Regions from separate parts of the Homo sapiens genome. Here region 1 is linked to region 2. Evidence: promoter capture Hi-C in 16 types of primary human blood cells and fetal thymus (Javierre and others, 2016). All regions are on one chromosome and are shown on one strand. The core of a region is centred on a gene start or on the middle of the fragment in contact, and the rest is flanking DNA. Distances in the headings are between cores, read along the strand shown.

The links. The method cuts DNA at HindIII sites, captures the fragments that hold promoters and counts their contacts. A CHiCAGO score of 5 or more calls a contact.
Region 1: a contact is called between a fragment that was not itself captured here and the fragment with the promoter of RCSD1 in region 2, in 1 of 17 cell types (non-activated CD4 T cells). The highest score is 6.4, in non-activated CD4 T cells.

Annotation. Positions count from the first base shown.
Region 1 is chr1:167,446,032-167,448,971 of GRCh38, forward strand. All of the region lies in intron 1 of CD247 (CD247 molecule), which reads right to left. Among named protein-coding and RNA genes, the nearest start is that of CD247, 71 kb to the right of the region's middle. The HindIII fragment of the contact is 5,276 bases long and covers 1-2,940 here.
Region 2 is chr1:167,628,902-167,631,739 of GRCh38, forward strand. RCSD1 (RCSD domain containing 1) reads left to right here and starts at 1,331. Exons shown (of 7, transcript NM_052862.4): 1 at 1,331-1,528. The coding sequence starts at 1,523. RefSeq lists silencers at 1,188-1,267, 1,288-1,507 and an enhancer at 2,048-2,117. The HindIII fragment of the contact is 3,174 bases long and covers 1-2,838 here.

The sequences.
Region 1 (2,940 bases), core at 150-2,649, 180 kb before region 2:
GCAACTTCACCAAGGACACCTGCAGGTTAGTGGCAAAGCTGGAAGGGAATTCCTGGGTCTCCTGACTCCAGGTACTTCTCTTAGCCTTATGGCTTCGATGCAGCTGACCTATGGGCTCAGGATCCGGAGTTTCCACCTACCTCTGATTTCACAGCCCTTGCCATTTTGCCCACTTTTGACACTTAGTCACAACGGCTTGTAAACGTTCCACTTCAAGTCCGCCCCCCACCACTGGCTCTGGCAAGCACAGATGGTGCCTTATAGTTTCATTTGCACCTTTCCCTCCTCACCCGCACATCACAGGCTTAGAGAAGAGCAAAGAACATAATAAGTCTTTGAGTCAGAAAGACTCTAAGACTCAAATGTGGAATCTGCCCCATTATTGGCTTGTTTTGGAACAGTTTTCTTAACCTCTCTGAGCGTCAATTCTCCTATCTGCAGAAGGGCTTTGACAAGACCGATTTCACGGGTGCAGAGAAATGAGGTAAAGTTTGTGGGGTGCCCTGCACAGTGGCGCATGCTAAGAGGCTCTGCAGGTACAAGGAGTGACAGCAGGGGATGGCCCTCTGACCTCCCACACCATCATGCCACGGTTGGGGACAGAACCTGGCCAGGTTTCCCAGCCCAGGATGGGGATACCCACTCTTCAGGGGTGTTTGAAGATAAAAACAGATAATGGGGGCCAGGCGCGGTGGCTCACGCCTATAATCCCAGCACTTTGGGAGGCCGAGGCGGGCGGATCATGAGGTCAGGAGATCGAGACCATCCTGGCTAACATGGTGAAACCCCGTCTCTACTAAAAAATACAAAAAAATTAGCCGGGCGTGGTGGCAGGCACCTGTGGTCCCAGCTGCTCAGGAGGCTGAGGCAGGAGAATGGTGTGAACCCAGGAGGTGGAGCTTGCAGTAAGCGGAGATTACGCCACTACACTCCAGCCTGGACAACAGAGTGGGACTCCGTCTCAAAAAAAATAAAAAGAGATAATGGGTGTGTACAAAGTGCCTGGCACACAGTGGGAGCTCAGTAGTGTGTAGACTTTCTGAGAACTCCTCACTTCACAAAATGATAATGATGTAACACATGCATGAAGCATACAGTTTAGAGAGCTCTTTGCACTTGCATGATCTGGCTTAATCCTCAGAACAACCTTGCACAATACGGGCAGAATTATTACCAATTCTATTTTGCAGATAATGACGTTGCAGCTCCAATAGGTCACATGGCTAGAGATTTTCTGAGTGCATCTGATGCAAAGTCCCTTCTCAATCTACCTTATCCCAGTGCCTCTGGGGTTCCTGTCATATAGAGAGCTTCCCACCTCTTTCAGGAGTTTCTTCTTTGGTAGGCACTTCTGGCCTCTGCTTGAATATCTCTGGTGACAGGAAGCTCAGCACCCAGCAATCACTGGTGGAGAGCTCTAATTTTCAGAGTTAAAAAAAAAACTTTGAACCTAGTTCTGCCTTCAGAAGCACAAATCACACAGATCCTCCAATTTCTATAGGGCAGCCTTTCAAACCTCACCCCCGTCCAGCTTGTTTCCACTTTGATAGGAAGCACGGCAGGTAAGAATGAATCCTACGAAGGCGACAACTGCAATCCAAGTCCTGGTGTTGCTACTGTGTAATCACTGAGTAATCACAGCGACCTCCCAGGGTGTGTGACACTCAAATGGGAAGGGCTTGGTACCTGGTAAGCGCTCAGTTTGTAGGCACTGATGGAATCAATATGAATCACAGTAGCTCATGATCCAGGTAGGAGTGGCCAGCTTTCTACTCGCCAACCTTCCTTCCTTTGAGTCCCCAACTTTGAGCCCTGAGTCCTGCTGCTGCCAGCTCCACCCCCAGGCTCAGGCACAACTGGTGATGACATTGCAGGGTAAAAACTTAGAAAACAGGAAGTCACTGTTCTTAGGAAGGCAGTGGCAGCAGCTATGGGTGGGGGGGTGGGGGCGGTGTCTGTGTTGGGCAGGGTGCTGGGTGTGATGCCGACCCATTGACCACAGCATCCAGGCACCCAGACCATCCCCCTCAGTGGGTTGCTCCCTTTCATCGAATAACTAACTTTCACTGCAGCAGAAAAGATATAGGCTAGACACACAGAGTAATAGTTATAACCACTGGTTGAAGATTTGTTCTGGGCCAGGAACCACACGTGTGAGTTTTCTCATTCAGTCTTCACAGTGACTCTGATTTCACAGCTAGGGAAACTGAGGCTCAGAGAAGTTAATAACATGCCTAATGTCTACAGCCAGGGTTGAATCCAGGCACATCTGGATCCACAGTCCAGGTCTTAACCACCACTTGGTACTGACCTTCAAAGACTTGCTGATCCTCAGAGGTGGTGAGAGGGGTCCTCACCAGGCTGTGGAGTCCCTTCTCCCAGGATCGAACCATTATAGCAGGTCATATTCTTGACTCTACAATTAGCTTTCTTTCATTGAGGGCTGAGAGGCCGGCCTGGGGGGTTGACAGATACAGAAGGCCTGCTACCAAATGTGAGGCCAGGACTCACACTGCCCAGTGCTTATAGCAATGACCCACTGGAGATACCTCAATCACCCTGAACTGCAGAACGACTCCAGCTAATTTACTGGCAACATATAATGTTTTACTACTCTCTTTAATTTGCTACCAGCCTGGCCAACAGGGTGAAACCACATCTCTACTAAAAATACAAAAAATTAGCTAGGTGTGGTGGCGGGCGCCTGTAATACCAGCTACTCAAGACGCTGAGGCAAAAGAATCGCTTGAACCCAGGAGGTGGAGGTTGCAGTGAGTTGAGATAGCACCACTGCACTCCAGCCTGGGCCATAGAGTGAGACTCTGTCTAAAAAAATAAATAAACAAAAATTTTTTTAAAAAGTACCACAGCCTCCTTAATTCTCTCCTCAGTGTCAGATTTCAAATATTCATGTTTCATTGTAAAATTGGATCATTTGTT
Region 2 (2,838 bases), core at 81-2,580:
AAGTTGGGCCTTAGAAAGTTCTAGGACAGGAAGGAGGCCATATTTCTAAGACTGGTACCCAAAGCAGCAATCTAAGTGCCTGAAAGTGCAAAGATGGTGCCGGGATAACCAGAATCAGGGTAGTCTTTGTAGCAGGAGCAGACTCTCAGCCTTTTTTCTCTACTGTTTCTCCACATGTCTCTTCACAGTGCTCACCATCACCTGTCCCATTGCCCACCTCTGATGGGGCTCCCCTCCCCTGGTTGAGCTGGGGTTGGGCGGGTGAGAATGCTGTGGGATAACCCAGAGGCGTCATATACCCAGCCAATACCCTGGCACTCACAGGTCTCTCAAGGCATTTTCCTGTTTCTCTCTGCCGAAGGGTCTGAAGGGGGCCGGGATCCGGGTAGCAGGGAGTGACCCTGGTGCAGATTCCAGTCCCCGAATCCCTCCCATGCGGTCTCTGCTGCCCAGCCGGGATGGCCCTAAAGGAAGGTTGCTATGCTGGGCCCTATGGGAATCAGATGTTGAGCATCTTGCCCTTTGCTATATTTAACAGGAATGGAGACGAGGCCCTTTAGCAAGCAGCTTGTGGGAGCCAAAATTCCCACAAAACCGAATGCATCAGTCAAAGCAAGGTTTGAAGAAAAGATTTACCACTTCAGGGAGCTTGGAAAACTTTGCGTGGATTCCTGATTTTCCTCCTCCTCCTCCTCCTTCTACTCGTATACAGAAGATAGATGGATAGATGGATAGATAGTGGTTTCCTGGAAGGTGGAGAGGAAAAGAGGTGAGAAGGGAAAGGTGGTCCCGTCGGCGCCACGCTGAGCTCTGAAGCCTCGGTCAGAAGGGCTCCTCTTTTGGTAGAACACAAACGCCTTCCACCAGGGAGGGTCCTCGAACTCCACCCAAGAACTGCAGGGAAACCAGGTATGACAGTAATGCAATTTTAAAAAGAGGGAGAGGAAGAAGGAAAGCAGGAAGGATGGACACAAAAGAAGGAAATCGAAAAGAGAGGAAACAAAAAGAATTAAAGGACCACTCTAATTCTTGAAGGGACAGGAAAAAGAAAGAAGGCGCATTAAGGGAGGGAGACGTTGAGAAGGACTGAGACCGTGGCAAAGCCCAGGGTCCTGAGAAACTTCGCGAGACAGAGGGGCCCGGTGGCTGCCCATCCCCATGTTTGGGCACATGGAGTCGTGGCTCCCGCTCTTGAGTCCTGCCCTGGGAGGGACAGTATCTGTTTAGATTTGCGTCTAAATTTAAACCCTGATCGTCGGCCTCCCTCCCCGCTCCCCACCCTCCCCTCCCCTCCCCTTCCTCCCTCCCTCCCTCCTCCTCCTTCCTCGTTCTCTCGCGCAGGGCCCCCGCGGCCGGGGCAGTCCCGCAGCCGAGCGCAGCCGGGCGCGCGCCACCGCCCACTCGCCCTGTGCCCGCCGCAGCCCGAAACTGGCCACGGCCGGGAGCGGAGGGGACAGCGGGGATCGTGAGCTCCGGCCCGGGCGAGCGGGTGCGTCTGCCGCAGAGTCGGCACCTGAAGGACATGGAGGTAAAGGACCCCGGAGGGAGACGCGGGGCTGAGCGGTGAGCGGTGTATCGGGCGCCCCTTCCCCGGGCGGCTGCCCCTGCCCTGAGCATGGAGCACGCGGCTCATCGCTGCTGCCAACTAGAAGGGCAAATGCCTGCTGTTCCGACGCCTCCTTGACCAACTCCGAAGGATCGTCCCTGGTCCCACCTAGGACACCCGGGTTGGGAGGCTGGGGTTGGTAAGGAAAGATCTCAGAGGGAGAGAAAAGGGCTTTCCTAGAGGCCCGGGTATTTTGGCTAGGAACTTAAATGCTAAAAAAAAAAAAAAAAAAAAAAAAAAAAAAAAGTTAGGTGCAGCCAAGGTTTGTAAATGGGTAAACGTGTCAGCAAAAACTGCAAGAAGGCAGAAGCCCTTCAATCTGAAGAGATGGGTATTGAAAGAGAAACAGAACTGGCAACACGAGGCCAGCACGTCTTCGTGGGTCTGTGGGCTTCCCTTTTCGCTTTCGGAGTGGCATTTTAGAGAGTCCAGTTGTCTTCTTGCTTCTGAAGTCCTTCCTGTGTCTGTCGCATCTTCTTCCATAACTTTCTGAAAGCTCCCCTTACTGGTCAGTCGAATGACATTATTTCTGATAAAACTTAAGACTCCCTTGGACACCCTTGCCTCTGAAGCTGTGTGTATGGAGGTATGCTGGCCACATCTGCAGGCTTTGCCAGAGGGAGGCCCCGCACTTCTCTGCCTGCTGAGAGGAGGTCCGGGGACTTTCCTTGTTCTGTTCCAACCTCAGCAGAGGAGTGGTTGGGTGTATTCCCCACATCCCTCTCTTCTGCACATCTTGAGGCTTCCCTGTGTTTCCTCCTTGAAAATGAGACCTGATATGTAGCCCTAAGTCAATCTTAGTAGGACCTGGGGCTTTTGAGAAGATGCAAATGTTATATAGTTTTAAAGGTGATTCCCACTCATATTCAAAAGGAAACATGTGTTGCTCACTAGACTGTGGTCAGTGCAATCAGGATTCACAGTTAACTCCGCTATCTCTTCCCCGCTCCAGGCTCTGTGCCTGGGCCCTGGTGGTCTTTTTATTTTTTTCTTTTGAGACAGGGTCTCATTCTGTTACCCAGGCTGGAGTGCAGTGGCACAATCTCAGCTCACTGCAACCTCTGCCTCCCAGGCTCAAAGGATCCTCCCACCTCAGCCTCCCAAGTGGCTGGGACTACCAGTGTGTACCACCATGCCTGGCTAGTTTTAAAATTTTTTGTAGAGACAAGTTCTCACTATATTACCCATGCTGGTCTTGAACTCCTGGGCTCAAGTGATCCTCTAAGCCTTGG